7 separate regions of the Homo sapiens genome follow, and all the other regions are linked to region 1. Evidence: promoter capture Hi-C in 16 types of primary human blood cells and fetal thymus (Javierre and others, 2016). All regions are on one chromosome and are shown on one strand. Each heading gives the region's core, a stretch centred on a gene start or on the middle of the fragment in contact. The rest is flanking DNA. Distances are from core to core; before and after follow the strand shown. Region 1 holds the start of STAMBP (STAM binding protein). Region 2 overlaps SLC4A5 (solute carrier family 4 member 5). Region 3 overlaps SLC4A5 (solute carrier family 4 member 5). Region 4 overlaps SLC4A5 (solute carrier family 4 member 5). Region 5 overlaps SLC4A5 (solute carrier family 4 member 5). Region 6 overlaps SLC4A5 (solute carrier family 4 member 5). Region 7 overlaps MTHFD2 (methylenetetrahydrofolate dehydrogenase (NADP+ dependent) 2, methenyltetrahydrofolate cyclohydrolase).

Region 1 (4,277 bases), core at 496-2,995:
ACTTTCCTACAAGAAGGCTGAGACCCTCAAGGAAGCCCAAATCACAACGATGAGAGTACTGGCAGACTAGAAAACATACAACCCCTGTACCATAATTAGGTGGTATAAGGAGTAGAACCACAGTGGACCAACCAAAGGTTCAGTTCAAGTTAATCAAATCCTTTGCCATTAGGGGGCTCCGCCCACAGCACTGTAAAAGTGGGAACAGCATCTTTTATTTTCTATTATTTCTCCTTCCAGATACCCACATACCTCCACCCCAGTACCTGGCAGAGTGCACTCAGTGAACTTTCTTGAGGATTGTTAACTAACTTCAAGGTTGACCATTTTTACTTAATCTGAGAGTAACTGACATTTTCTGTGGTATCCTTTTTCATATTTGAGCACAAGGTGAGTTAGGGGAACTGGTCTGGGAATTAATGCTCATAATTGTAACTCTGCTCACTAAACCACTATAGTCAATCTATAAAATCATTCATTCATCATTATCATGGCAAGAGACTTAAATCTTGAAAACAACCATTTACTCATCTTCATAGACTAAACACTGAATAACAAAAAGGCACGATGGTAACTTGCATTGCAAAAACCCCTGGTGTCCCAAAACTCCAGTAATTCTAGTCTTTCTAGATATAGTTGCTGTTAGAATCAGATTCCAAATTCCAACCAGATATCACCACTATCATCTCCAAAATAAAACTGGGCATTTGACACACATTGCATTACAGCAAACCCTAATCAGTATGCTCTAGAATACACAAACTACAGTAGAATAAATCTTGGAATTCAAGGCCCTGTGGCAACTGGCCCTCCCCAACAGAGATCTTTTGCTTCAGTCAGGATTCCAATCCGCCCAGGCATCCTCACATTTCAGTTTCATTTATCTATCCAGTTTTTCTTTTCTACTACAACTCTTCCCTCAGGGGTAGTCTTCTCTCAGCCAATTCCATCTTTAGGTCTCTTCAATATTCGGGTCACAATTCCTCCACAAACCTTCCCCTCTAAAACACCCTCACTAATAGCACAAAAGCCGTGAGGACTACTAGGGATGCAGAGATAGTCCATCTCTCACGAGGCCTCCTTAGGGACTCAGAAAGCCGCAAGCATATCTAAAACCTCCCCAAGTAATTAGTAAACCTAGTCCACGGCCCATGAAAGTTAACTGAAACAGAGGATGCTTGTTGCATCTCAGTACCTCTTGGGAGAGGTTCTTGTGGGTTAAGAAAGGAACCACCTCCCAAGGCCAGGAAGCGGCGCCGGTTACCACCTGGTTGAGCAATTCCAAAAAGGGGATGCAGCATCTGCAAATGAGGGGGAAAGGCGGCGTAAAGGACCGAGGGGGAAATACGAGGAGGAGAAAGGAAGTAGCAGGAATGAGCGGAGGGGGCGTATACAGTAGGGAGGGCTCTATCGACAACTGCTTGAGGAACCCTTCTTGAAGGCACTCAAGACGAACTTGCCAACCCCAGGCACAATCATCCAGGGTTTTCGGGATCTTTCAAATGCAGTAGGCGGGGAACCGCTGGGCCTGGCTGGTCAGGCGCCAGCCCGCGGAGACAGAAGCCGTCGGGTGCCTCGAGCGAGGCAGGCCGGGCAGGGGACTCGGGGAGAGTAGGCTGCAGGCCCCACACTCACGGCGGCCGATCCCCTTCAAAGTCCAACCACGCTCGGAGGCCCTGCCCCACCACGTTCCCGGGACCCTTCCCCACCTTTCCCCGCGGATGACACCCGGAGGTTCCGGAAACGTCACATCCGGCGCCCGCTCCGCCCACTCCCGTTCGTCTGTCTATTACATTCCCAGTGATTTAGGACTTGGAACGGAGAGCTAGTAGGTGGGGCTAGAATCGGCACCTGCGGAAAATCCGACCAATGAGGAGCGAACGACACAGCGGCCATCTTGGTAAAGGAAAAGGAACAAGGAAGAAAGTGGAACCAATTAGCAAGCTAAGGTTTGCTTTTAAAATTATTTTGATTTGGGGTAGTCCCTCATCACACTCACAATACTCCTGCATTTAAGGAGGGATTGCTGATCCCAGCACAACTGCAGACTTAGCTAAACTAACCAGGATTTATAAATTGGGGGACAGAAAGTCTTTCGAATGTATTTTTTAGCTTGTATTACATTCTACACAAAAATTGGTAGTCTTAGATATTAGGCAATATCTAAGACTAATTTTATTGCTTAGAAAAGAACATAAGTCTAACTTTTTTTTTTTTTAAGACAGGGTCTTGCGGTGTCACCCAGGCTGTCACAGGAGTGCAGTGGTGTGATCATAGCTCACTGTGGTCTCCAACTTCAGGGCTCAAGCGATCTTCTTGCCTCTGCCTCCCAAAGTACTGGGATTACTGGCGTGTGCCACCGCACCCAGATGAGACTAACGTTTTAATGTCAAAAAACCTATAAAATATTTGGAAAAAAAGCGTTTAATCTCTAAGAGCCGCTATGCAAAAGCAGTGGAGACACAAAAATCTGTATGACACTGTTCCTGCCCTGAGACCGGGACAAGGTGGTTTTATGCATCAAATACAGAATGGCACGTTCTGCATGTAGATGTGTGTCTGTACGAATCCATATACATCCTCTTTACAAAAAGGTCCTACAAGCTTGCTAATCATTCTGTCTCAGAAGACTTTGTGAAACATTAGGCTTTGGTTTAAAAGTCTAAGTCTCTGGGGGACACTTTCCCAAAATTTGGGAGCCTCCCTGTGAGTTTGTTAGTGTGATGGCATGACCTATTCTTCAAGGTCTAGCTTAAATCCCTAATTCAGGTGTTGCCTCCTCCACCTAGCCAGCCTCCAGATCTCTCATTTCTCCCAACCTCCGTTGTGTATATTTCTGTTGGAGTTACCTGAAGTGATTTTGTGTAGTCATCAACTTTTCAGACTTAGGGTTGAAAGTACTTGCTTGCATCATATCACCTCCCCTTCTGCCCCCAGCAAGCATTAATGTGCATGGGTCTACTATCAACTCTCATGGATCTACTGCAGATAAATCTGGGAAGATAATTGTATAGGGCACTCTACTGTGTCTTCAAAACTCTCTCTACTGACTCTCTTCAGAATGTAAACATGATGGGTTGGGCCTAAAGAAATTGATGCACTGGAGATGCTGGTCATTGGGTGGGCATTATAGTGCAGATGGGGTCCTGGCAGGAGGCAACACAGGTCAAAATCTGATCCATTCAACCTCTCACTCAGTAAATGTTTACTGAGTGTCTACTATGTGCCAGGTTCTGTTCTAGGTGTTAGGGATACATCAGCAAACAAACCCAGCAGGTGGATACTCTAATGGTGGAAGCACAGGTAGAAGTACAGCTGGTGGGGTAGGGAGGGGCATCTGCTCCCATTCAGCACAATCTCTAAAGTAGTTCTTTTTTTTATAATGTTTAGCTTAACAAGTAAAGAAAATTTACAAACATCCTAGATTTTAAGATTATGATGAGAAGACTTTAAGAAGCTATAACTGAGACACACATATAAGGGGTGTGCATAGTCGTAAACATAGCTAGCGCCACATAGAGGCTGTTCCTGATATTAGAAAGTTAATATGCCCAGTTGCTAGCAGTTCTTAAGGTAATAGCTAAGTGAATATAGGAAGCAGGATCTAGTCTTTTTAGGGAGAGAATTTGTAAATGTTGACCAGAGTTTTTGATATCTGGGGCAAAGTTCAATACTCAGCTTTCTAGGGACCTGAAATAAGAAAATCTTGGCCAAGGTAAAAATTTTACATTCCTCATTTCTTGTTTAACTGGAAAAGTTTAAAAACTAAACAATTTTGTATACACAATCAGGAAATCAAAGCTATAAAAGATTCTTGGCATAACTGATGAGAATATCCTACCTACCCCTGCCCTAAAGATTGGAGGCTAAGCGTGGAAGGTATTCCTTCAGCAAATAGGCTTCAGCAGTTCACCTGGCAGACTAGACCAGGTTAGGAATTGAGATGCTCTTTCCTTCCGGTGCTCACTCCCAGCCATGAACACTTTTCCTGAATATAGCAGCCTCCATCTGGCCGCTTGCATATGCCAACGTCAGGTCTCCTGCACTCCTGCATGCTCATTCCTACTTGCTCATTTTTGGGCAGCAGCAAAAGATGCCTAGAAGGTGAAGTTCTTAATCTGAAATGTAACATCGGGGTTTAGAAAACACAGGCCTGGACCAGGTGCGCTGGCTCACGCCTGTAATCCCAGCACTTTGGAAGGCTGAGACAGGAGGATCGCTTGAGCCCAGGAGTTCGAGGATATAGTGAGCTATGATTACACCACTGCTCTCCAGCC
Region 2 (4,277 bases), core at 724-3,223, 490 kb before region 1:
TCTCAGCCTCCCAAGTAGCTGGGATTACAAGCATGTGCCACCACACCCGGCTAAGTTTTGTATTTTTAATAAGAGACGGGGATTCACCATGTTGGCCAGGCTGGTCTTGAACTCCTGACCTCAGGTGATCCACCCGCCTTAGCCTCCCAAAGTGCTGGGATTACAGGTGTGAGACACCGCACCCTGCCCATTATCTTCTCTTATTTAACTTGCTGAGGAGGAGTCTTCTGCTAGTCTGATTTCTATTCATTGACAGGTGACCTGTTTCTGATTGTTTTACTCTAGAAGTTTTTGGGATCTTTCTTTTCTTCATAGTCACTGTTCTAAAATTTCATAATGATCTAGCAAAGTGTGAGGAGTTTTTTTCCCAGATATTTTCTGTGCAGAGTGCTCAGTTGACCCATTTTGCCTGAGACTATTATCTCATAGTGTTGGGGAGACCTCTTAGTTATTTTTAAAAATACTTTTAAAAATTTAATAATAAAATACCTCAAATGTGTACAATATGACAAATATTGATATATTACTGTCCAGAATTAACAGATGTTAACATTTTATCATATTCGTTTCATATCTACATGTATATCTATCATCTATCCAAAATACCAAAGATCATCAAGCATCATTAACCTTATCCTTCCCCAGAAGTAACCTGAAGTTGGTGTGTATCATTCCTCTACATAATTTTATGATTTTATTACTTATAAATGTAACTATAATCAATATTGGTAGTGTTTTGTTTGTTTTAAAGTTTTATGTAAATAATATCATTTTCTTTTACAACTTCCTTTTGTTCTCATTATGTTTTTGAGATTTATACATGTTAATACATAAAAATCTAGTTCATTAATTTCAACTGTCCATAGTCATCCATTATGTGTCAGTTAGGAAGGCCTCAGCTAAAAGTAACATAAAACTTGGCTAGCAGTTTAAATATAGAGATTTTTTTTTTTTTTCAGATAACAGGAAATCCAGCAATAAGCAGTCCAGAGCTCAGTGATATTCTCAGGAACCCAGATTTGTCTTATCCTTCTGCCTTGTTCTTAGCCTGTGCCTTTGGTCTTCATACCTGTCACCTCATTGTTGCAAGATGGCTGCTTTATCTCAAAGTCTCAAGGTCCGTGCAAGAAAGCAGGAGGGTAAAGGACAAACTGTGCATTCCAACTGTGTCACTTTCAATTAGGAAAATAAAAGCTTTCCTGAAAGTCTTACCCAATGGACTTCCACCTAAATCTCATTGGCTAGAATAGGGTCACATGACTATTCCTAAACTCAGTGACTGGCTAAGGGCAACCAGAATACCGTGAATGGTTTATATAGATCCCAGCTCATGCCTGAGCCTAGGGAAGGTGACTACTGGCAATCAAGGGCCCTGTGTCTCTACCTGAACAAAATAAAGTTTTGTAAATAGGCAAGCAGAAGAGGGAATGGTTGTTGGACAGTGTAGGAGACATGCTAGATGACTACCCAATGCGCATTCTCCCTTTTTCCCTTACTGACAGACTCAATATTATTTTCCCAGTAAAAACTTACTTTCCCAGAGTCCTTTGTCAGATGACCCAGGTGTGGTTTTCAGTAACCACATCTGGGTCACCTTTGTCAACACATAATTTTTAGTAGAAGTATATCCCAAATATTGTGCTGAACATATACTCAAAGTTATTTGTTGTTATCTGAAATTCAAATTTAACTGGGCAAACTGTAGTTTCATTTGCTAAACCTGGCAACTCTATCCAGGAAGGAAGAAGAAGGAAAAGTGAAGAGGCTTTCTTCTGAAAATGCTTTATCTAGGAAGGGACTCCTTCCTCAGGTTCTTTCTCCTGTAGCTCTTCAGCCAGAGAGAGCTGAAGGGTGTCTGAGGGAAGTGTTTCTTTTTAGTTGGCCATAGTGCTACTGTGGCTGGAGCAGAAGTCAGAAAGTCAGAGCAGAAAGGGGAATGGGCATCAGGGAAGTAACTAGCAGCATCCTCCACAGGTGTTTTATACTCCCCAAATAGTTACATCCAGTGGTGATATTCAAAATATTTAACAACCAACATGGCACTGACATTGACCAACCCAAATGAATACCTGATCACTAAAAATGGACACCAATCATAAATAGCAGCCATACCAATGCGTATCGGTGGAATATCAACCCTGTTTCTATTGCTGTTTTCAGGAAAATTAACACTCACTTGATTTATTATGACTGTGTAAATATTGCTCACAGTTGAGTATAGTGTACCATGATTACTTTTCCTTTCTATGACTATTCTTGACAAAGTTTTTGTATCCTCTTGCAACAGTCAAACACATCAAGACCATTTTTCAGATCCAGGTTTTTTTCCTGAAGACATCCTGTCCAGAGCCTGCTCTAAGATGTGCCTGTTGCTCTCTGGACTGCTGCAGGGTTCTTCTCCGGTGACTTTCCTTTGCCTATCTTTTGTGGTGAATCCCGTTTCCCAGACTTAATTTCTTTCTTAGTGCAAGTCCTTCATCTTGCTAGAGTTCCTCCTTCAGTCACTTCCTGAAAAAAAGGTGCATCGAAGGTAAATTTTTGAGATAGTTTATGTCTGAAAATGCCCCTATTCTACCCTCCCACTTGATTGATAGCTTGATTGGGACTGGAATTCTAGGTTGGAAATAATTTTGTCTCACTTTTGGAAGCATGACTTCATTGTCTTGTAGCTTCCACTGTAGTGATTGAGAAATCTGATATCAATTCTTGTTTCAGATTCTTGGTAGATGACTTATTTTTTTCTGGAAGCTTTTAAGATTTCTTTATCCATGAAGTCCTAATGCTTCATAATGATGTGACTTGGAGTGGATTTTTTAAAAATTAATTTTTTCTGAGCTGATCGAAAGTTCTTTCAATCAGAAAATTCTTCCAGATCTTTCAGTTCTGGAAGGTATTCTCATGTTATTTCATTGGTAATTTTCTCTCCACTATTTTTTTATCTCTCTTTTGGGAACTCCTATTATTTTGATGTTTGGGCCTCCTGGATTGATCCTCTGGTTTTCTTGTTTTGTCATAGTATTTGTTTAATCTCTTTTTATTTGTGTTCTATTATCTGATATACTCCTTCAAATTTATGTTCCAAGTCTTTTATTGAAAATTTTCTTCTAAGGTATTTTTAATTTCGAAAAGTTCTGTCTTATTCTTTAAAAACTTATAGGTTCATAGGTTTATAGCATTCTGCTTTTCTTGTCGTCATGAATACAATGTCTTTTCTTGTCTCTGTTGTGATTTCCTCTAATTTGGTCTTGAGAGCTGTCTCTGGAGAGTAGCCAGAAACCAAGATAGCCACTTTCTAGGAGAGCTCTAACCAGGAGGAGAGTAAGGTTTAGATGGTCAGGTGAGACCAAATGAAACCAAAATGCATAAAACAGAAGAAATTTATTATTTACAGATCTCAAAGAGGTTAGGGGTGGCTGATGGGAAGTCAAGACGCAGTAGGATGTTCAATCAGTGAATGGGGAGAGAGAGAGAGAGAAAAAGAGAGAGAATGCACTATATTGCAAACAATCATATAGGGAGGGGAAGTTTTAACTAGGCCAAAGGAGTACAACTAATTGGGTTTCAAACAACTTATGTCAGGCCAAAAACTGGATGCCAAGAAAGCAACTATATTAAACAAACCTATGACAATCTCCTTGAAGATATTAACTATCTTTGTTTTTGTCTTTGTTTTGTAATCTTTGTACAGGGGTCATGCTTATCTTTTATTATTCCAGTTTTAGTATATGTGCTACTAAAGCGAGCACCAGCTACATAGTTTTTTAAAGAACCTAAATGTTTTAAAATATATATTTAGGGAGTACAAATTCAGGTTTCTTACATGCATATATTTCATTGTGGTGAAGTTTGAGTTTAGTGTACTCATCACCCGAATAGTGAACAGTGTAGCAATAGGTCACTTTTCAACCCTCACCCCCTTCCTACCCTCCTACCTTTTGGAGTCTCCAGTGTCTGTTATTTCACTCTACATGTCCATGTGTACGAATTGTTAGCTCCCACTTATAAGTGAGAACATACAGAATTTGTCTTTCTGTTTCTGAGTTATTTCACTGAGGGTAATGGCCTCCAGTTTCATCCATGTTGATGCAAAAGACATGATTTCATTTTCTATGACTGATTAGCATTCCATTATATATATATAATGTAATGTATATATTACATTTCCTTATCCAATCCTCCATTGATTACACTTAGGTTGATTCCATATCTTTGCTATTGTGAATAGTGCTGCAATAAACATACAAGTGCTGGTATCTTTTTTAATATAATGATTCTTT
Region 3 (4,277 bases), core at 935-3,434, 470 kb before region 1:
TTGCCCAGGCTAGAGTTAAGTGGCGCGATCTCGGCTCACTACAACCTCTGCCTCCCAGGTTCAAGTGATTCTCGTGCCTCAGCCTCGCGAGTAGCTGGGATTACAGGCACGTACCACCACGCCCAGCTAATTTTTGTATTTTTAGTAGAAACAGGGTTTCACCATGTTGGGCAGGCTGGTCTCGAACTCCTGACATCAAGTGATCTACCTGCTTCAGCCTCCCAAAGTGCTGGGATTACAGGCATGAGCCACCACGTCCAGCCCTTTTGGCATATTTGTACCAAATATATTGGTGCATTTCCTTCACCGTCTGCTCTTCCTATACTATGTGTGTGTGTTACTGGCTTGTTCCCGACAGGGCTGTGGAGTAGGAAAGGGAGAATGGGAGAGCCTAGGAGGACAGGGAATTGTAGGCCATGTCTCATAAGCTGGAGTAAAGTAAAAACCCCTTTTAAAGGGAAAATAAAGTCTTGTGTACCCATGAAAATGCATTTGTATATTTGTAGGGCCCCAGGAAGCCACATATTCCAATTTGAGAAATAATCTAACTAATTAGGGTTTTATTCCATAAAAATATCTTCCAATTATGAATTATAACCCAAATTTTGCTGTTCCATCTAATAAAAGGAATATTTTTAAGATTATCAAAATGGAAGCAAAATTTAAAAGTTCAAGTAAAACCTTTCTACCCCTGAGAATACATTCCAGACCCCAGTTCCAGACACTCCGGTTTAAGGAAGCCACAAAGCCTGGTAACAAAGTCACCAACCACAGTGATTTTTCTGCAGCCCATGGGCATTGAGTTGGTTTCTGCTGTTCTTCACGGAGTGGAAGTCTCAACCCTCAGTCTTTCACTTCTAAGCAAAATGGGCATTGTATGTGTGATACAGATATAAACCTTGCTCTTGCCACATCTCAGGGATAGTGCCAATGCCCTGCAGAAGTCAAAATAAAACAGCGCCAGAATCATTTTACCTGCCTCATCTGGATAATTGTCTGAATCTCCCACTTCTCTTTGCTGTAGGACACCTGACCACATATGTTTTTCCTCTCTGAGTGTCCTGTCTGTTCTGTAAATCCATCCAGACACCTAGGCAGGGGGCCCAGCTGGTCTGGCTGCATAGCCCAGCAGGAACTCCCACTTCAGAGAACAGGGGCATCCTGCAGAGTATGAGGGGCCTGGGCCAGGCAGGGTGGCTAGATGTGTCTGGGCCTGAGGGTCAGGCACACTATGCAGATGGAGGATTGAGCAGAGACCCCTTCAGTTCCTGCCTTACAGAATAATGGCAAAGATCCAATAAGACAGTATATGTGAAGGGGCTTGGTACCTGTGAAAGCCCCCTGAGAATGATAGTTCAATATCATTTTTAACTAAATGTATAATATTAATAATCATAACTATAAAGTTGAAACAAAGGCCAGGTAGCTGACTTTTATTCCTTCCACAGAGACCCACGAGGGTGGCTTTAATATATGCTGCAAGGTTCCTAACCTCCAGGACAGTTTTGAAATACACAATCCAGCTGCCTGACGTGTTAGATGTGAATGGGGCTTGGGTGTCTGTACTTTTCTATTAAGTTCCAGTGTACCTGGTTAAAAAATACACTATCCTAAAGAAATTTGATGCTTCCTTGAACCACATTTAGCTTACAGAACCCTGTGAAGTCCCTGCTTTAACTCTAGTTGAGGCCCAAGTAACTGCTGGTCCTCATTCCCACAGCAGGTCAGGGGCAGGAAAGAGGCCAGCCCAGGCATCCTTGTCCTTCTTGTACTGGCTCCATGCGCTACATGGAAAGCAGCCCCTTGCTGCAAAGTTGCTCTCTGGATCATGTCAGAGCTCCTTGGAGAAAATATCTTGCACCTGGAGATGACAGACCCACAAACAGATAAGCATAAATTGGTGGGAGGTGCGTTGATGGAGGTCTGCACAGGAAACTATAGGAGGAGAAACAGGAGCACATAGGCCTAGGTGGTGAGTGGTGGCAGAGGGGGCAGCACAGGCTTCCTGGAGCAGGTGACACCTGTCATGAGTCTTAAATGATAGGTAAAAATTAGCTAGAAAAGGCAGCTGGGAGAATTAAGGAAAAGGAAATTCATACATTTCTCTTTTCTAGCTTTATTGAAGTATAATTGACAAAATTATACATGTTTAAGGTATAAAACATGATTTGATATACATACACATTGTGAGATGATTACCACAATCAAATTGGTTAACACCTTCATCACCACTCATAGTTACCTTTGTGCGAGTGTATGGTAAGAACACTTAAGATCTCTCTAAGCAAATTTCAAGTATGCAATACAGTATTATTAACTATAGTCACCATGCAGTACATTAGATCCCTGGAATATTTTTATCTTTGACCAACATCTCCCCATCTTCCACATCCGACCCCTGGTAAACACTGTTCTGCCCTCTGTTTCTATGAGTTCAACTTTTTCAGATTCCACATATAAATGAGAACATGCAATAGTTCTGGCTTATTTCACTTAGCGTCATGCCCTCCCGGTTCTTCCATGTTGAAACAAATGGCAGAATTTCCTTCTTTTTTATGGCTGAATAATATTCCATTGTATATATTTGTATATGCCACATTTTCTTTATCCCTTCATCTGTCAGTGGACATGCAGGTTGTTTCTGTTTTGGCTATTGTGAATAATGCTGCAGTGAACATGGGCACGTGGGTATCTTTTCAAGATACTGATTTGGCTTCCTTTGGGTGTATACCCAGAGATGGGGTTGTTGGATCATATACTAGTTCTACTTTTATGTTTTGAGGAACTTCCATATTATTTTCCATAATGGCTGTACCAATTTACATTCCCACCAACAGTGCACAAGTGTTCCCTTTTCTCCACTTTCTTGCCCATACTAGTTATCTTTTGCTTTTTGTAGCCATTCTAACAGGTATGGGGTGACATCTCACTATGGTTTTGGTTTTAATTTGCATTTCCCTGATGATTAGTGATGGTGAGCACTTTTTCATATACCTATTGGCTATTTCTTTGTTGTATTAGTCCATTCTCACGCTGCTAACAAAGACATAACTGAGACTGGGTAATTTATAAAGAAAAAGAGGCTTGATGGACTCACAGTTCCACATGGTTGGGGAGGGCTCACAATCACGGCAGAAGGTGAAGGAGGAGCAAAGGCATGTTTTACATGGCAGCACGCAAGAGAGAATGTGCAGGGGAACTGCTCTTTATAAAACCATCAGGTCTCATGAAATTTATTTATTTATTGAGATGGAGTTTCGCTCTTATTGCCCAGGATGGAGTGCAATGGCGCAATCTCAGCTCACCGCAACCTCTGCCTCCCGGGTTCAAGCAATTCTCCTGTCTCAGCCTCCCGAGTATCTGGGATTACATGCATGCACCACCACACCCAGCTAATTTTTGTGTTTTTAGTAGAGATGGGGTTTCTCCATGTTGGTCAGGCTGGTCTTGAACTCCCAGCCTCAGGTGATCTGCCTTCCTCGGCCTCCCAAAGTGCTGGGATTACAGGCATGAGCCACTGCGCCTGGCGAGATTTATTCACTATCATGAGAACATGGGAAAAACCCACCCTCATGATTAAATTACCTGCCACCAGGTCCCTCCCATGACACATGGGGATTATAGGAGCTACAATTCAAGATGAGATTTGGGTGGTGACACAGCCAAACCATATCATATGTCTTCTTTAGAAAAACATCTATTCAGATCCTTGGCCTTTTTTTAAGGGTCTCACTGTGTTGCCCAGGCTGGACTTGAACTCCTGGTATCAAGCTATCCTCTTGCCTCAGCTTCCTGAGGCACTGGGACAACAGGCACATGCCACTGTATCTGGCTTCCTTTGCCCATTTAAAAATAGGATTTTTTTCTTTTTGCTATTGAGTTGTATGAGTTCCTTATATATTTTGGGTATGAAGCCCTTATCAGATATATGGCTTGCAAATCTTTTCTCCCATTCTGTGGGTTGCCTTTTCATTTTGTTGATTGTTTCCTTTGCCATGCAGAAGCCTTTTCATATGATATTGTTGCACTAGTTTATTTTTGCTTTTGTTACCTGTGCTTTTGGTGCCATATCCAAAAGAAATCACTGCCAAGACCAATGTTAAACAACTTTTCTCCTGTTTTCCTTTAGCACTTTTATGTTTTGAGGTCTTACATTTAAGCCTTTAATCCATTTCAAGTTAATTTTTTGTCAGTGGCATAAGATGGGGTCCAATTTTATTCTTCTGCACGTGGATATCCAGTCTTCTCAACACCATTTATTGGAGAGACTAATCTTT
Region 4 (4,277 bases), core at 936-3,435, 440 kb before region 1:
AATTGTAAGAATGGGCCAGAATTTGCTTAGGTGTTTCTCCCGTTTTTTTGAGACAGAGTCTTGCTCTGTTGCCCAGGCTAGAGTGCAGTGGCACCATCTCAGCTCACTGTAACTTCCGCCTGCTGGGCTCAAGTGATTCTCCTGCCTCAGCCACCTTGGGCAGGCTCCTCATCCTCTAAGGGTCTCAGTCTCCTCACCTGTACAATGAGAATAGTCACAGACCTACCTCGTGAGATAGATTTAAGGATTAGATGAGATAATACATGTTAAGTGCTTAGCATAGTGCTTGGCTGGGAGTAGCTGGGATTACAGGCATGCACAACCACGCCTGGCTAATCTTTGTATTTTTAGTACAGACAGGGTTTTGCCATGTTGGCCAGGCTGGTCTCAAAACTCCTGACCTCAAGGGATCTGCCTGCCTTGGCCTCCCAAAGTGCTGGGATTATAGGCGTGAGCCACCAGGCCCGGCCTCAGGTGTTCCCCTTTTGAAAAATCTTCCTTCCACAGATCATTTTTTAGTGCCTCTGTCAAAGACTGAACCAGGGGAGTATCTGATGATTCCTCAGACATCTCTAGGAAAATTCTTAACGGGCTTCTAAGTGAATTAATACTGGTCTTCAGTATCTGTTGGGAAATTCAGTATCCTGATATGACTCATATGAAGTTAAAAAACTTTGCTGGATATTGAAGGAAAACTTACATTTCTTACTTTTAAGAAATGAATTTGTTGGAGTTACAAAATGTATTACAGGCCTTAGGCAGAAAGCACAAACATGTCTTGATGCTTTGTAACTAATACACAGAAGTCAAGCTTTTGGGTAATGGGGCGGGGTGGGAGAGTTACAGAATAAAGTTGGTGAGGCCACATAGATAGAGTGACCACAGGGATATATACTTTACAAATTTTAGCTGAGTAAACTTCATGAAAGAAACAAATTCACACAAATGTAATTCTTAAAACAAATGTTTGGAGGCAACATAGCCTTAGCATTAAAGGTTACATACATTGGGAGATTACATTTTTTAAATTAGAATGTCCTAGGGGGGATTTTGCAAACAAACTAACCAAGACACTATTTAATTATAATGATATTCAAAATAGTATAGATAGAAGCTTCTCTTCAATCACAATGTTTATGTATATTCTCCAGATTTTACTCTTATCTAACTACACATAATGGGCAGCCTGTTGTTTTATCATCTCAAGGATCTGTGTCTTCCTTTTAAAAAATATTGATGTCTGATTGTCAGTCCCCTGAGATTCTGATGTAATTAGTCTGAGATTCAGCCTGGGTTTTAGAATTTGTAAAAAGCTCCCAGATGATCCTAATGCAGCCATTGAAAACTGCTGATACTTACTCTAGCCCAGCAGGATCAGTGGGAGTTACGAAGTTTCCATCTGAGGAGACAACTAGAATAGAGGTCTCTTGGTTTTCAGCCCTTTCCAGATCCTCCTTGAAGGAGAACCTCCTCTTCTCCCATCCTGTGGTTTGAGCATTGGAAGCCTTGACTGTACCTGGTAGCTAGCGCCATGATGCTTTCTCCTGCTCTTGTTATTAATTGAACAGCAATGTCCTCTAATTATATCTCTGACCGAGTTACTAGGCACAGAAAAGGCCTCAGTTCTGGCCCTGCTTTGTGTGACAGAGAGCTGCTTTCTGTGACAAGTGACATTTCAAGGTTCCTTTTAGCTACATTCCAGTCAGGAGCGGGGCACCTGGTGCCCACCCTGGCATGCAGAGTTGGGGGTCTACACCCAAGCTTGGGCAAAATCCCTAAAAGTTAAAGCTTTGCTGGATAATGAAGGAGAACGTGGAGATTTTCTTTCCACTTGACCTGCTTCCCCAACTCTAATACCCCACTTTTTGAAGCCAACCATGGTACACAGTTCACTTTGCAATGAGTTGTTTGGGATTACACATGAACCTTATTATCAGGCTTTTGCAAGTTTTTAAACTTGGCTTTGACCAGAGGCTTTTTACAGAGGCCATTCCTTTATTCATTCTGGAGAATGTTTAAGGATTTTATTATGGAAAATTCAAATTTATACAAAAGTAGTATATAGCAGAATGAACCCCCACCTGCCCATCACCCAGCTTCAACAGTTAACAGCTAACTCATAGCAATTCTTGTTTCTCTGTCCCCCACCTACTACCCCAGACACACAGACACACATGCTAGGTCAGGTTGACACAAATCCCAGACACCACATCATTCCATCTGTAAATATTTCATTATGTCTCTAAAAGATAAGGCCTCTTTCTTTCTTTTTAGAGATAGGGTCTTTCTCTGTCACTTCAGCTTCATTGCAGTGGTGCGATCACAGCTCACTGCAGCCTCAAACTCCTGGACTTAATCCTCCTACCTCAGCCTCCTGAGTAGCTGGGACTACAGGCATATGCCACCACACCTGGCTAATTATTTTATTTTTTGTATAGTGGAGTCTTGCTTTGTTTCTCAGGCAGGTCTCAAGCAATCCTCCCACCTCAGCCTCCCAGAGCGCTGGGATTACAAGTGTGAGCCACCATGCCCGGCTTCTGAGTATTTTTAAATATACTTAAACAAAATGAGTTTTAAGCTTTTTTTCCCCAGTCATTTCCTCATAGCGAGATCTCACCCAAAGTGATCAGTGAGGTCTTGCTACCCTCAAGCAGAAGGGAGCAAGCATTTAATGCAATTGATCTGGGCAGGAGACCATAAGGGGACACCAGAGAGGAAGAAATGGCACCTGTCTTCAAAAAGCTTAATGTATATTTGGCATTTGTTATATACCAAAACAATCATAAAACATGATTGGCTACAATTAATTATTAATTTAGGCACTGAGCCTGAATTAATTAATTATTTTAGGCTCTGAGCCTAAGAAGTTAGAAACTTTACCTAGGATAGTCTGGAGCACAGAGTTGCCTGGATCCCACCCGTTTTTATTCTGATGTCAACTGGTCTAGGATATGACTGAGACATGAAGATTTTAAAGGCATCTAGGGTATTCTTATATGCAAGCAAGCTTAAGAATCACTGTCCTAGAACAGTGGTTTCTAAAGTGCTTCAGGTTGAGAACCATCCTAGGGTGTTATAGGAGAAATAAGCAGAATAACTGGCAGAGGCTTTGTGGAGGAAGGGGCATTCTCGCTGGGCAGTGGAAAACAGAGAGGAAAGAGGACATTCTACATGATCTCAGAGGTGATCTGCAGACCAGCAGCATGAGCACACCTAGGAGCTTATTAGAAATGTAGAATCTTTGACCTCATTCCAGACCTGCTCAATGAGGATCTGCATTTTGACAAGATCCCCATGCACATTAGAGTTTGAGGCACACTGGTGTAGTAGAATATGTACTGTAAATGGACTTCAGTTATAAAATCAGAGAAACTAAAGCATAGCATGACTGTGCTAGAAAGGAGACCCTTTCAGCTAGTGTTCTTGGAGCCATTCTAAGGGAAAGAGGCCATGTCCTGCTGTATAATGAGAATCAGATCCATGTGAGCTACGTTTGCCTGCGTTGGGACCCCATATAAGTTGAACTATCCCTAAGTCACACCATTCTATGTACCTACAGAGCAGGGGCTCCTGAACCCACAGGGTGCAGTCAGATAACCCGGGAGTTTCCATGGCAGGGTCACCCTCCTGGTGGGGTAACCATCCAGGCATTGGTTTTTGTTTTGTTTTGTTTTGTTTTGAGACGGAGTCTCGCTCTGTCATCCAGGTTGGAGTGCAGTGGCATGATCTCTGCTCACTGCAAGCTCCGCCTCCCGGGTTCACGCCATTCTCCTGCCTCAGCCTCCTGAGTAGCTGGGACTACAAGCGCCTGCCACCACGCCTGGCTAATTTTTTGTATTTTTAGTAGAGACAGGGTTTCACCATGTTAGCCAGGATGGTCTCGATCTCCTGACCTCGTGATCCGCCTGCCTCTGCCTCCCAAAGTGCTGGGATTACAGGCATGAGCCACCGCGCCCAGCCCCAGGCATTGGTATTTTTATAAATCTCTCCAAGTTATTCTAATGGACAGCCAAGGTTGAAAACCATTGCTATGGATCTTTGGTCCTCCATGTTTCCTTTTCCATTCAAGGTGAAAGTGAGCTAAATTTCTAGCTGTAGCCATTGAAAACACAAAATTAAGTTCCAGGTAGCAAGCTTAATGGTTCAACATCTGGATTCCCAAAATAGTTATAGAGGGGACTAGAGCGGTGTCCCTAGTTAAATGGTCTCATATTCCGGAATTTCTTAAATCAAATTTTCTGGATTCTGGTAGCAGAGTCTAGTTCTGGCATTGGCTT
Region 5 (4,277 bases), core at 612-3,111, 420 kb before region 1:
AAGCATTCCAAACAAAGGAAATGGATCAGGCTCAGAGAAGCTGGATGGAGGTGGTTTGATATAGGCTCAGTGTAAGAGCTTCAAGGGCAGGAGGTAATACTGGAGAGGTGAGCCAGAGACTACACAGAGCCTGTAAGCAGAGCTGAGTCACACTCTGTCCCCAGAGTGATGGGGAGCCTAGAGGACTTTAACTCTTTTTCCGTTTGTGCCAAGAATACTCACTGGCGGTGCTTGCGGCTGCAGGCTTTACCCTGAGATAACTTTTCCCCACGAAATGTCTCACTTTTATTATTATTTTTGCATTGCTCTTATATGTTGACTTTGGAAACAAAAGACATCATTCTACTTAAAGCATTCTGTTTTTAGTTGTGGCATTTCCATTTACAAAATACACTAACTCTCAATCATTGAAAATATCAAATCCTAGAAAACTAGCATTCCTACGAGTGATGCTAACATCATTCTCGAACAGTTTTTGGCCTAAGATTCATTTGATGAATCCAGTGTTTCCAAAATAGATGATTCTGATCATTCCAATGATTCCAATGTTAGTTCTTTTTAGAAATAATTCTAAGAATAATTTTTATATTGCATTTTCACATTGAAAATCAGTCAGATTTGCTTCGGCCTCAAAGAGTGTGTTTATGTAAAATTAAATGAGTGCTGGCAGTGAGCTGCACTTTTTTTTTTTGCCTAAATGGGAAAGGGTTAAATGTGAGCATAGTCCCATCGAATCTGTAAGTCAGAAAGCACACTCTGGAGACAGTGTGAAGAACACGGCCTGAGCCTCCAAGGGCGAAGGGCTGGAAGTAAAAAATGGTTATGAAATATCTGAGCTCCTTGGACTGGGCTCTACAAAGGTTTTCTAATATGTATGATGTGTGGAAAACTGAAAACAGAAAGGTTAAGTAACTTAACCGAAGTCCTACAAGCAAGAATATGGAGACCTGGCCTTCAGATCCAAGAGAGGCTGTCTTCCCCCAGTGCCTGCTGTGTCCCATTGTGCCATATTTTACCAATGTACTATAGTCTCATTCCAAAAACTGAGAGTGAGTTGGCAGTGGGAGATGTGGTTCAAAGGGATTCCTTTAAAAACTAGATGTGATATGCTCCCAGGCATTTCAGAAACAGACCCGATCTTTCTTTTCTCCCTCCTCTCTCCTCGCCAGCTCTTCAGTGACGTGGCCTACAAAGCCCGCAATCGGGAAGATCTGATCGCAGGAATTGATGAATTTCTGGATGAGGTCATCGTCCTTCCTCCTGGAGAATGGGACCCAAATATCCGGATTGAGCCCCCCAAGAAGGTGCCCTCTGCTGACAAGAGGTGTGTATGAGAATGGGCAGTAGGGAGAGAAAAAGGAGGCTTCAACTCTGTCGGTATCATTTTATTTCTCTTTAAAATACATCTGAGGCTCAGCATAGTGGCTCATGCCTGTAATCTCAACACTTTGGGATGCTGAGGCAGGTGGATCACTTGAGCCCAGGAGTTTGAAACCAGCCTGGGCAACATAGTGAGATCTTGTCTCTACAAAACAAAAATCAAATTAACTGGGCATGGTGGCATGCACCTATAGTCCCTGCTACTCTGGAGGCTGAGGCAGGAGGATTGATTGAGCCCAGGAGGTCAAGGCTGCAGTGAGCTGTGATCATGCCACTGTACTCCAGCCTGGGCAACAGAGTTTGACCCTGTCTCAAAATAATGTTTAAAATAAGTTTAAAAATAATAAGATATATCAGAAACAAATATGGCTAAATGTGAACATTTGTAAAATCTAGGTGACCTGCGTGTGGATATTGTTAGACAATTTTCTGCATTTTTGTCTGTCTTTTAAGATATTTCATAATTTTGGTTGGAGAGGTGAGGGGTGCTCTGGGGGACCCACTCTCCTTCATCCCCCTTCTCTTCCAGGAAATCTGTGTTCTCCCTAGCAGAGCTGGGCCAGATGAATGGCTCTGTGGGAGGAGGCGGCGGAGCTCCTGGAGGAGGCAATGGAGGTGGTGGTGGTGGTGGCAGTGGCGGCGGGGCTGGCAGTGGCGGGGCCGGCGGAACAAGCAGCGGGGATGATGGAGAGATGCCAGCCATGCATGAAATCGGGGAGGAACTTATCTGGACAGGAAGGTGCCCACCCCAGGCCTCCCAGTGACCCTGCTGTCCTTTAGACTTCTCCCTTCTCAGCTGCCCTCTAGGGACTTTTCCCAACCATGGTCTGTAGTGCCCACTCGAGGTCACCCCTGCCTTCTTTCCCTCCCAGAGCCCTTGAACCCCATCATGGATCCCCAAAAGGTTGCCTCAGGAGAGGGGAATTTGAGACCCATACAAGAGGAGAGGAACCCAAACTTTTCTCTTAGATATCCTTTGGTGCCTGTTTCCTGGGTCTGCTGTAACAAAGTACCACAAACTAGGTGGCTTAAAACCACAGAAGGTTACTCTCCTGCAGTTCTGGAGGCCAGGAGTTCCACAGCAGGTGTTGGCAGGACCACCGTGCTCCCTGAGGCTCCAGGTGGAATCCTTCCTGGCCTCCTCCTGGCTTCTGGTGGTGGCCAGCAGTCCTTGGTGTTCCTGGCTGGCAGCCGCATCACCCCCGGCTCTGCCTCTCCACCACATGGCCTCCTGTGTGTCTGTCTTCACAGAGCACTTTCCTCTTTGTGTATGGACCCCAGTCATGTTGGAATAGGGCCCACCATAATGACTTAATCTAAACTGGATTACATTTGCATAGGTGTTACATAGATGTTAGGACCTTAATATATCTTTTGGGGGGACACAACTCAATAACAGTACCTTTTTTAAAACTTAATTTACCTATTCAAAAACTTTTTTTTTTTTTAAAGAAAATAAGAGAAAGTTCTCCTGGCCTGGGTTTCTTTTCCAGCTCTTGGAGTCATTCAGGTTGATCTAGATTTAGGAAAGGATGTGGCCTTGAAAATCTACATATAAATCATGACTTTGAGAATGAAGTCATGTTTTATATGCCCTTGGCTTTATACCAGTGGTTCTCACTGTAAGCAGCTTTGGCCCTCCTTAGTCCCCCTACCCCCGAGCCCAGGGAATTTGGCAATGTCCAGAGACATTTTTGCTTGTCACAACCGGAGAGGGGAGATGCTACTCGCATCTAGTAGGTAGCTGCTAAACATCCTGCAGTGCATGGGACAGCCCCTGCAGCAAAGGAGTATCCAGTCCAAAATATCAGCAGAACTGAGGTTGAGAAACTCTGCTCCATGCTAAGGACTGCATTAGGGGCTATGGGAATAGCAATCCCAGTAAACAGTGTCTCCAAACCTAAAATCTTCCACTCAGCTGTTCCAGATAGCAAAATCAAAAAACAAACAAATACCAACCAGTTATAAGGTTTAGGATCTGTTCTTAATGAATCTGTTATAATCTGGGATGCTTCTGTCACCGAAAGTTAGACACTCCTGTGTTCACCAAGAGCAGGCACCCTGCAGATGGTCAGGGATGTGAGGAGGACCACCATCTGTGGACCCCAGGACTTCCATTCTCCATGGAATGTTAGGTCTACCCCAGGACATATTCCCATCAGACTTTCCCTCTCCAAAACCCTCTATGTCCACCCTTCCCAATGTGGGTGGTGCCAACCACAAACTCAGTCCTACAGGAATTCATCCCTGGCCCTAAATGTTCTGGTGGAAAGATCTTTGCCCCATCCACCCTGGTCAAGTTCCTTTCCTCGCCCCAGACTCTGCAAGTTCTTGTAAATAGCCCTGCCCCTGCACTGGTGTTAGTGGTGAGAAAGCAGCCCCTGGGCCTGTCTTGAGCAGGTTCTTCGGTGGCCTGTGTCTGGATATCAAGAGGAAGTTGCCCTGGTTCCCAAGTGACTTCTATGATGGCTTCCACATTCAGTCCATCTCTGCCATCCTATTCATCTACCTCGGCTGTATCACCAACGCGATCACCTTTGGTGGGCTTCTGGGGGATGCCACCGACAATTATCAGGTGTGTGCGAGCCGGTGCCCTGAGTGTAAAAGTAAGATCTGCCGCCACCTGGTGGCAGCAGGAAGCTTCATCCTGTAATCCCAAAACCAAGGTTTCATCTACCATCCAGGTTGAGGCCATCACTATTTGTAATCCTTTACGCTTCAAGTAATAATAATATAATAAGACAATATTAAAAGATCTGAAGCTAAATCTCATTACTAAAGACCAAACTTAATGATTATTTAAATAGGTCAAACCGTTAAGGGGAATCATCTGCTGTGTTATTTGGTACTTTTCCCACTGATGCTGGAGTGAATTTAATCAGCACAATTAATGGAGT
Region 6 (4,277 bases), core at 919-3,418, 400 kb before region 1:
GGCTGAGGCAGGAGAATGGCGTGAATCCGGGAGGCAGAGCTTGCAGTGAGCGGAGATCACGCCACTGCACTGCAGCCTGGGTAACATAACAAGACTCTGTCTCAAAAACAAAAAAAAAAAGAAAGAAAGAAAGAAAAAAAAAAGAGCACCAACGATCTCACCAGAGTAGGGAGTCCAGATTCTAGAACTTACCCTCCCTGTCTTTAAGGTTTTTTTTGTTGTTGTTTGTTTGTTTGTTTTTTGAGACAAAGTCTTTTTATATATTCTCCTCATTCTGAACATGCAGGACTGAACTGATGTTCAGCATTTTACAGACAATTCTATAATGCTCCCAGACAGGTGACTCAGGAGAGGCAGAAGCAGCTGGCCCTGGGCCCACCCATTTCTTTATTCTTTTCTGCTGGGCCTCATTCCTGCTGTTTGTTATTTGCAGCAGGTGACTGTGCTCTCTCTCCTGGCTGCCCTCTGACCTTCACCTCCATGTTTCCTGACAAACCCCAGGGCTGTTGCAGCAAATTACCTTCTTAGTTTTACAGACACTGTCTGCATGCATGCTCCTTCCCATGTCTGAATTTAGTCTAAAGTTGCAGCTACCTAAGGTGTTTAAGGGAAAAGATTGCACTTGAAAAGTACCCAAAGTCAGGGAAAGTTGAGGAGGTGGGACAGCAGGCCAGGCGACAAGTGCCCTGGGACAAGGGAGAGAGGAAAGGGCCCCTCTCTGTTTGCTCCCACTCAGCCAACGCGGCCTGACCGAGGCTGGTTCGTGGCCCCCTTTGGGAAGAACCCGTGGTGGGTATACCCAGCAAGCATCCTGCCCGCCCTGCTGGTGACCATCCTGATCTTCATGGACCAGCAGATCACTGCCGTCATTGTCAACCGGAAGGAGAACAAACTGAAGGTAAGGCCGGTACTAGGAGCAGAGGCATAACCTCTTTCTTCCCACAAAGTCAGAAAGAGCGAAGGAAGGACATGATGCTTCTTTCAGTACTTTGGGCCAGGAAAATATGAGGACAGAGACTAGAGTTCCCACTTGGTGTGTTGAGGGGGAAATGTGACCTCCAGATGTGGGTAAGGCCACCAGGGCTGGAGTGACTTTCTGAGGACCAGGACCAAACTAGGCTGGGCCACTGGGCACAGGCTCTCTGTCTTTCCCAAAGTGACCTCGAGTTCTTATGAGAATCAGCAGATCCTGACAGGGGCTCAGCCTAGAACACTGAGGCAGAGGAACTTCCTTAGCCTTCCTGGTCTCTGCAACTCCCCACCCAGCCTGTGAGCCTGAGAAGACTCGGGTCACCCCCTCCCCCATCCAGGTCTGGACCACTTTAGGTGTGGCCTGTCCCAGCTGGGGCCCCTCAGGAACCGCAAAGACCCTGTGGCCACCTTCTGGGCCCTTCTCCCCAGAGACCCAAACCCAGGGCCTCTCCAAGCTTGAACATCCCTCTCTTCTATGACCCATACCCCTTAGGCAGTTCACCCTTTCAGATGGGGTGGCAGGACACACCCACCTCTGCAATCCTTGCAAGGAGCACCTCAGGCCCCTTCAGTATCTTCTGGAAGGCAGGGGGTCCTTGAACCATGTTCCACAGAATGGTTGCATCCAGGAGGAACTGGCTCCCCAGAAACTTCTCCCTCCCCCAACCCCGCTCCTGCAGAAGGCTGCCGGCTACCATCTGGACCTGTTCTGGGTGGGCATCCTCATGGCTTTGTGCTCCTTTATGGGGCTCCCCTGGTACGTGGCTGCCACGGTCATCTCCATCGCCCACATCGACAGCCTCAAGATGGAGACAGAGACCAGTGCCCCTGGGGAGCAGCCCCAGTTTCTGGGAGTCAGGTAGGAGGGGTCAGGGCCTAGGGATCACCCAATGGGGAGGGGCCCACTCGGGGAGGAGAAGCTGGCTTTGCCTGCCACAAAAGGATTTGGACAAAAAGGGCCCCCGCTCTGACGGCCCAAGAACCACAGGGACAGGAGTGCTATCCCTGGAGGGAGGGAAGGAGAGAGACAGAAGTCCAGCTCTAAGTGGGGCTTTTTACCTACTGGGCTCCAAGCAGTATGCATACCCCATCCATAAATATGCACACGTGCCAGACACTCATCTTCATCAGCCACCCAAGGTCCCCACAAGGCTTCGTGCTGTCCTGCCCTTTTCCTCTTCCTCAAGACCCTCCAGGCCCCTACTGCCCTGATGGCCCTCCTGCGGGTTCAGGTCCTGCTCAGTCTCTATTCCTCCAGAAGGCTGTCCTGGGATCACCCCCGCTCCCCAGTCTGTGGCCCTGCCTGTTACTCCTGTTCCTTCACTTGCCTCTTCTCTCACGCCCCATGGTAGGCAGAGAAGTACATCTTCAGCCCCTTAGGGCCTCCAGGGCGAGACCACACCAAACCCTGGCTTTCTCCTACGTGGCTGCCCTAAGAACTTCTCCCACTATCTTGAGATACTTGGACCGCCCAGCCTGCCCGAATGAGGCTTCTCTGCCCGACTGCAGGGCTCACCTGCCTCCCACCCCTGACACCTGCTCTGCTGGTGTCCTCTTCCCCAGATCCTCATTCATTGTGCCCCACAAAAACGAAATCTTAAAATCAAAGGGCAGAGTAATAGCATTTTATCTCGCATGTATCCTCACAATAGGTGCCATTATTATCTGCATATACTGAGGCTCAAGATGGGCAGGCTCCTGCCCAATGCCACATAACTAGCAAGTGGCAGAGCCAGGATCCAGTCCACATCAGTCCTGCTCAAGCCCCCCAGCTACAAGCCACTACACTAAGCGGCCTCCCTCAATGCTCCTGCAAGATGCCCTTGCCCCAGTCAGGGGCCGCCTGTCTTCCCACATATGGTTCAGCTGGGCCTCAGGCAACCAGGCAGAGCTTCATGCAGAAGCCCTCAAGGCCATGGCCTTGGACACAAGCTTCAGGTGCCCACAGAGGGGCAGGAGGGCCAGAGTAGTTGCCAGGCATTTCCTGGTACACCCTGACCATGTGTTCTTCTCTGCCAGGGAACAGAGAGTAACCGGCATCATCGTCTTCATCCTGACGGGAATCTCTGTCTTCCTGGCTCCCATCCTAAAGGTGAGGTCCTGCACTGTCACCTAGGGCCTCGTTGCCTGAGAAAGCAGAGCGGATGCCTTAGGCAGGGAGGGGGTCCCCACATGGCTAGGGATCACTGGCCTATCAGCCCCCTAAGAAAGGCACAGTCTTGGCCGGGCATGGTGGCTCACACCTATAATCCCAGCACTTTGGGAGGCCGAGGCAGGCGGATCACCTGAGGTCAGGAGTTCAAGACCAGCCTGACCAACATGGTGAAACCCTGTCTCTACTAAAAATACAAAACTTAACCAGGCATGGTGGCACGTGCCTGTAATCACAGCTACTCGGGAGGCTGAGACAGGAGAATGGCTTGAACCCGGGAGGTGGAGGTTGCAGTGAGCCAAGATCGCACCACTGCACTCCAGCCTGGGCAGCAAGAGCGAAACTCCGTCTCAAAACAAAAAAAAGAAAGAAAAGAAAAAGAAAGGCACAGTCTTACTAGGCCAAAGCAATGTTTCCACACTGTCACCGCCGTTTTCTGTGATACTGCAGTTTTTTATCATCACCAATCCTCTCTCCCACCCATCCCAGGGCCACTCTCACCTTTCTGGAGGATACTCTTCCCTCTGAAAGTTCTGCCAAGTTGTAGCCCTGCTTAGATCAGGAACTTCCTGAATGGGGTGTGTTTCCACATTGCCAGGGTTTGGGGCTCATGAAGTTTAAAACTTGCAGCAGGAGGCCAAACATGGTGGTACATCCCTGTAGTCCGGCTACTCAGGAGGCTGAGGCGGGAGGATCACCTGAGCTCAGGAAGTCTGGGGACTCGAGTGACTTTTTCCCACACAGCTTGAAGCTCCTCTTGCTTATGTCCCACCACAACAGCTAAGAGACTAAGTCAAGTAGGGGTACAATGGAGGCAGGCGTCCCCCACAAGGGTCTCTTTCTGGAGAGACTCCAGAAAGCAAGGTGTTCCCACCAGGCTTCCCTGCTCTCCACTCCAGCCAATCGCCCATCACTCTCCCTTTCCCTTGATCAGTGCCCACGTAAGACTTTCCTTTCTTGAATTAAGTTTACCTGTAATTGCCTCAACCTTTTGCCGATATTATTTTTCCTCTTTGAATATCTCAAAACAGCTCATGACCAGGCATGGTGGCTCATGCCTGTAATCCCAGGACTTTGGGAGGCCGAGGTGGGAGGATCACTTGAGACCAGCCTGGGCAACATAGCAAGACCCCCATCTCTACAAAAAATACAA
Region 7 (4,277 bases), core at 822-3,321, 380 kb before region 1:
GAAGTTAAAGTATATAGCAAAAGCCAAATATGACAACACACATGTATAATGTAGAAAAGAATCCTTTCAGTCCTAGAAAACTAAAATGGGGAGAACTTACTGAAGGGTAACATACATAAAATGAGTACTAATAGCAAGGAATAATCCTAAACATTTTCCCAATAAACTGACTAAGCCTCAAAAGGACAGCTTAGGAAAATGATTAACATGCAGTTTTTCTTTTTTCCTAGCCAATTCAGTTCTACTTAGATAAATCTGGTTGCCAATCAATACATATATAAATTAATTTTTTTCTGCTCAATTACTACCATTTTTTCTTTTTCACCTTTTCCCTAATTTTCTCTAGCAACACTTTTCCTTTGGTTTGATCAGTTGAACTCAAAAGGTTTGGTACCTAAAATGAGTATCAACTGTTATTGCAATAGCACTTGGGAAATGCAATCCTAGAAAAGGCGAATGTGTAACTGAGGTGCTTGACAAAGTGAAGCATCCATCCTCCATATGGTAATGTCTCCCATATTAATCACTAGGTTAATGGCTGCTCCTGGCTAGATCACAGGACCCTGCATGATACTGGAATGCTCCCTGGTGAGGTACTGCAGAGGTATGTGCAGAAACACCCACCCATTTAAGCTTTCAATAAATACAAGGCATCATTTTAAACCATTTCAGTAGAATAAATTAAAAATATTGCATTTCTATTGGCCTGCTTTGCTTCTTGAGCTGGCCTGGAGTGCTGTTTGTGACACAGAAGACACAGTAGTTAATTAGTGGCTACCCCAAGCTCTTTAGACTTCAGCACTTCTCGCTCTTCAAGCCTCAGCACCTTTTTTGCAGCAATAATGGTATTCTTCATTAGCATTGCCACTGTCATGGGGCCAACACCTCCAGGAACTGGAGTGATATACCCAGCTTTTTGTCTGACTCCTACATAGAAACAAGACAGGCAGGCTGCTTTAGTTATGGCAAAGGACATGTGTGTACTTTAATATATTATTAAACAAGCATGCAAGGAAAAAGTAACATACATAAGCATAAAACTCAAAAATCACATCTACATCATTCAAGGTTTTGTGAACACACTAGTAAAATAACATGCACATACAGAGTTGTTCAAGGAATATTTATACATCTAAGTAACCTATAAAGAAATCTATTAAAGAAATATCTAGTAGGTTAACTGTGTGGGAGTTGTAAGTATAACAATAATAAGCATTACCTCAATACCTGCCTATAGCATTTTCTTAATTTAATTTTAAGTATAATTTGTCCAAAGCAGAAAGCACAGTAATTTTTTAAAAGTGAGAAGTTAAAAAAAAAATTAACCTAATGTTAAAGTGAAAATCCTTACATACCTAGGCATGGGTTTGACTGCTTTAATAAAAACAGAAAGCTAGGAATAGGATTATCAGCATAGGCCGGGTACAGTGGTTCATGCCAGTAATCCCAGCACTCTGGGGGGCTGAGGCAGGGTGTGAGGTGGGGGAGATTGTTTGAGGCCAGGAGTTTGAAACCAGCCTGGGCAACATGGTGAAACCCCATCTCTACAAAAAATACAAAAATTAGCCAAGTGAGGTGACATGTGCCTATAGTCCCAGCTACTCAGGAAGCTGAGGCAGGAGAATTGCTCAAGCCCAGGAGGCAGAGGTTGCAGTAAGCTGAGATCCTGCCACTGTACTCCAGCCTGGGCAACAGAGAGGGATCCTGTCTCAAAAAAAAAAAAAAAAAAAAAAAAGGAAAGAAAAAAAGGATTATCAGCATAAAACTCGGATAAACATTCTATCTTAAGAACTGAAAGGAGAGGCCAGGTGCAGTGGCTCACACCTGTAATCCTAGCACTGTTAAAGGCTGAGGCAGGCGGATCACTTGAGGCCAGGAGTTCAAGACCAACCTGGCCAACACAGCCAAATTCATCTCTACTGAAAATACAAAAAATTAGCCGGCATGGTGGCTCATGTCTGTAATCCCAGCTACTTGGGTGGCTAAGGCAGAAGAATCACTTGAACCTGGGAGGTGGAGGTTGCAGTGAGCAGAGATCACACCACTGCACTACAGCCTGGGCAACAGAGTGAGACTCTGCCTCTTAAAAAAAAAAACAGAACTGAAAGAAGAAATCTACTAGTATATTCTAGTATTTCAGGGGTATGGTTTTTTCCTGGACCATTTTAACTTTCTAGGCCTGTGATCTCTCAGTGTGAAAATGAGAAATCTCTAACACTTTTTGGGAAACTCCATGGTTTAGAAAAATCACTTCATCAAATTTTCAAACTTGTTAAAAGTCAAGAAATTGCTTGAATTATGAAATAAGTCTAAGGAAAAAAACAATTCCCTGAAAAGTTTATAACTGCTCTCCATCACTATGATAAAACACCTAAAATAATTCTAGAAAAGCCATAATTTTAAAAAGGTTTCTCTAATTCTTATGAAAAGCCTACTAAGGCCAGGTGCAGTGGCTCATACCTGTAATCCCGGCACTTTGGGAGGCCAAGACGGGTGGATCACTTGAGGCCAGGAGTTCCAGACCAGCCTGGCCAACATGGTGAAACCCCGTCTCTACTAAAAATACACAAAATTAGTTGGGCGTGGTGGCCCATGCCTGTAGTCCTGGCTACTGGGGAGGCTTGAAGCACAAGAATCGCTTGAAGCTGTGAGGTGGAGGCTGCAGTGAGCCGAGATGGTGCCACTGCACTCCAGCCTGGGTGACAGAGTGAGACTGTCTCAAAAAAAAAAAAAAAAAAAAAAGAGAAAGAAACGAAGGAAGAAAGGGGTGGGGGGAGAGGAGGGGAGGGGAGGGGAAGGAAGGAAGGGAGAGAGATGGAGGGAAGGAAGGAAAGAAAGAAGGAAGGGAAGGAGAGAGGGAGGGAAAAGCATACTGACTGGGCGCAGTGGCTCACACCTATAATCCCAACACTTTGGGAGTCCCAGCTACTCGGGAGGCTGAGGCAGAAGAATAGCTTGAACCCAGGAGGCAGAGGTTGCAGTGAGCCGAGATCGCGCCACTGCACTCCAGCCTGGGCAACAGAGTGAGACTCCCATCTCAAAAAAAAAAAAAAAAAAAAAAGTAAATAATCTATCCTAAATGTCCATGAAAGGTAGTATTTATTGATTTCATTTTTAAAAATAAAATTTCACCATTTACCTTCAAAATCCACATCTCCAACCAACTTGGGTTTGGCAGTTACAGGATCGTGAACTCTATTTATTCCCACATCAATGACTGCTGCTCCTTCCTTGATCATATCTGCTGTGATCAGATTTGGAATACCTGGAAATGGAGAAAGGAAAGATCAACTTAGTACTGAAAACAGTCTACCTGTCAGATTCTTGTCTAACTTCAATTTCAAGAGACCCTGAAGAACTAATCAACATGTTTTATTAAAACCTGTTAAAAATATTAACTAAGGAACTATTTACTTTTATTATTTTTTTATTTTGGCTCCTGACAGGAAACAAAAGGAACCATTTAAACTTTATACAGTAAATATTAATATAAATATTTTGAAGCTTTAGGAATAACATTCACCCATCTAGACTATAATGGACTGCCAGAAACCGGTATTCCAATCACAACTCTATCCTCATCTTTGTAGGCAGCTCAAAGAATCATTACAAGGGGAATGATGAATAGCAGCTAGGCAGGCGAATTCTAAGATGAGGGGTACAACCTCCTCTTCTGAGGTGAAGTCCTTCCCTCCATCCCCCTTGTGTTCTTACCTGCAGCAGATATTACAATATCTGCAAGAATTGTATGTTTCTTCAACTGCTCTTTGGGAGTATATCGATGAGATATTGTAACAGTGGCATCACCTAGAAAGAAAAAAATAGATGTCTTGATTTCTGACACAAAGCTGGGATTGGATTAGGTCTCAACTAGTCAAGTCATTGTAGAAACTCAACATCTCTGAAAAATAATTGACTTACGGCCAGGTGCAGTGGCTCACGCCTGTAATCCCAGCACTTTGGGAGGCCGAGGTGGGCAGATCACCAGGTCAGGAGTTCGAGGCCAACCTGGCCAACATGGTGAAACCCCGTCTCTACTAAAAATACAAAAATTAGCTGGGCGTGGTGGCGCATGCCTGTAATCCCAGCTACTTGGGAGGCTGAGGCATGAGAATCACTTGAACCTGGAAGGTGGAGGTTGCAGTGAGCCAAGATTGTGCCACTGCACTAGCCTGGGCAACAGGGCAAGACTCCATCTCCAGGAAAAAAAAAAAAAAAAACTGACTTAATGGCTTGTGCCATGTTTTCTGAACAGCTAATTGTCATTTACTTTTTTA

Evidence for each region. The method cuts DNA at HindIII sites, captures the fragments that hold promoters and counts their contacts. A CHiCAGO score of 5 or more calls a contact.
Region 2: a fragment that was not itself captured here is called in contact with the fragment with the promoter of STAMBP in region 1 in 14 of 17 cell types (activated CD4 T cells, naive B cells, total B cells and 11 more); the score reaches 9.1 in activated CD4 T cells.
Region 3: a contact is called between a fragment that was not itself captured here and the fragment with the promoter of STAMBP in region 1, in 7 of 17 cell types (naive B cells, activated CD4 T cells, non-activated CD4 T cells and 4 more). The highest score is 7.4, in naive B cells.
Region 4: a fragment that was not itself captured here is called in contact with the fragment with the promoter of STAMBP in region 1 in 3 of 17 cell types (non-activated CD4 T cells, activated CD4 T cells and fetal thymus); the score reaches 9.5 in non-activated CD4 T cells.
Region 5: a fragment that was not itself captured here is called in contact with the fragment with the promoter of STAMBP in region 1 in 16 of 17 cell types (total B cells, activated CD4 T cells, erythroblasts and 13 more); the score reaches 13.1 in total B cells.
Region 6: a contact is called between a fragment that was not itself captured here and the fragment with the promoter of STAMBP in region 1, in 5 of 17 cell types (activated CD4 T cells, non-activated CD4 T cells, erythroblasts and 2 more). The highest score is 9.2, in activated CD4 T cells.
Region 7: a fragment that was not itself captured here is called in contact with the fragment with the promoter of STAMBP in region 1 in 17 of 17 cell types (erythroblasts, non-activated CD4 T cells, activated CD4 T cells and 14 more); the score reaches 11.1 in erythroblasts.

The regions. Positions count from the first base shown.
Region 1 is chr2:73,826,429-73,830,705 of GRCh38, reverse strand. It overlaps STAMBP (STAM binding protein), which reads right to left and starts at 1,745. Exons shown (of 10, transcript NM_213622.4): 1 at 1,196-1,745. It overlaps LOC105374807 (a long non-coding RNA gene), which reads left to right and starts at 308. Exons shown (of 3, transcript XR_940246.3): 1 at 308-390; 2 at 1,802-1,949. RefSeq lists an enhancer at 1-248 and a silencer at 1,756-1,974. The HindIII fragment of the contact is 5,447 bases long and covers 1-2,606 here.
Region 2 is chr2:74,318,868-74,323,144 of GRCh38, reverse strand. All of the region lies in intron 5 of SLC4A5 (solute carrier family 4 member 5), which reads left to right. It also overlaps the pseudogene RNU6-542P. Among named protein-coding and RNA genes, the nearest start is that of SLC4A5, 22 kb to the left of the region's middle. The HindIII fragment of the contact is 1,554 bases long and covers 1,197-2,750 here.
Region 3 is chr2:74,298,321-74,302,597 of GRCh38, reverse strand. The region is part of intron 7 of SLC4A5 (solute carrier family 4 member 5); the gene reads left to right. Among named protein-coding and RNA genes, the nearest start is that of SLC4A5, 43 kb to the left of the region's middle. The HindIII fragment of the contact is 6,556 bases long and covers 1-4,277 here.
Region 4 is chr2:74,270,075-74,274,351 of GRCh38, reverse strand. The region is part of intron 8 of SLC4A5 (solute carrier family 4 member 5); the gene reads left to right. Among named protein-coding and RNA genes, the nearest start is that of SLC4A5, 71 kb to the left of the region's middle. The HindIII fragment of the contact is 790 bases long and covers 1,791-2,580 here.
Region 5 is chr2:74,250,021-74,254,297 of GRCh38, reverse strand. It overlaps SLC4A5 (solute carrier family 4 member 5), which reads left to right. Exons shown (of 31, transcript NM_133478.3): 15 at 1,170-1,324; 16 at 1,910-2,119; 17 at 3,781-3,955. Among named protein-coding and RNA genes, the nearest start is that of MTHFD2, 54 kb to the right of the region's middle. RefSeq lists enhancers at 3,717-3,776, 3,827-3,996. The HindIII fragment of the contact is 4,323 bases long and covers 1-4,022 here.
Region 6 is chr2:74,230,023-74,234,299 of GRCh38, reverse strand. It overlaps SLC4A5 (solute carrier family 4 member 5), which reads left to right. Exons shown (of 31, transcript NM_133478.3): 23 at 737-898; 24 at 1,653-1,831; 25 at 2,992-3,064. Among named protein-coding and RNA genes, the nearest start is that of MTHFD2, 34 kb to the right of the region's middle. The HindIII fragment of the contact is 1,477 bases long and covers 1,430-2,906 here.
Region 7 is chr2:74,210,729-74,215,005 of GRCh38, reverse strand. MTHFD2 (methylenetetrahydrofolate dehydrogenase (NADP+ dependent) 2, methenyltetrahydrofolate cyclohydrolase) reads right to left here. Exons shown (of 8, transcript NM_006636.4): 6 at 3,715-3,807; 7 at 3,140-3,265; 8 at 1-927. The coding sequence ends at 764. Among named protein-coding and RNA genes, the nearest start is that of MTHFD2, 14 kb to the right of the region's middle. The HindIII fragment of the contact is 2,871 bases long and covers 636-3,506 here.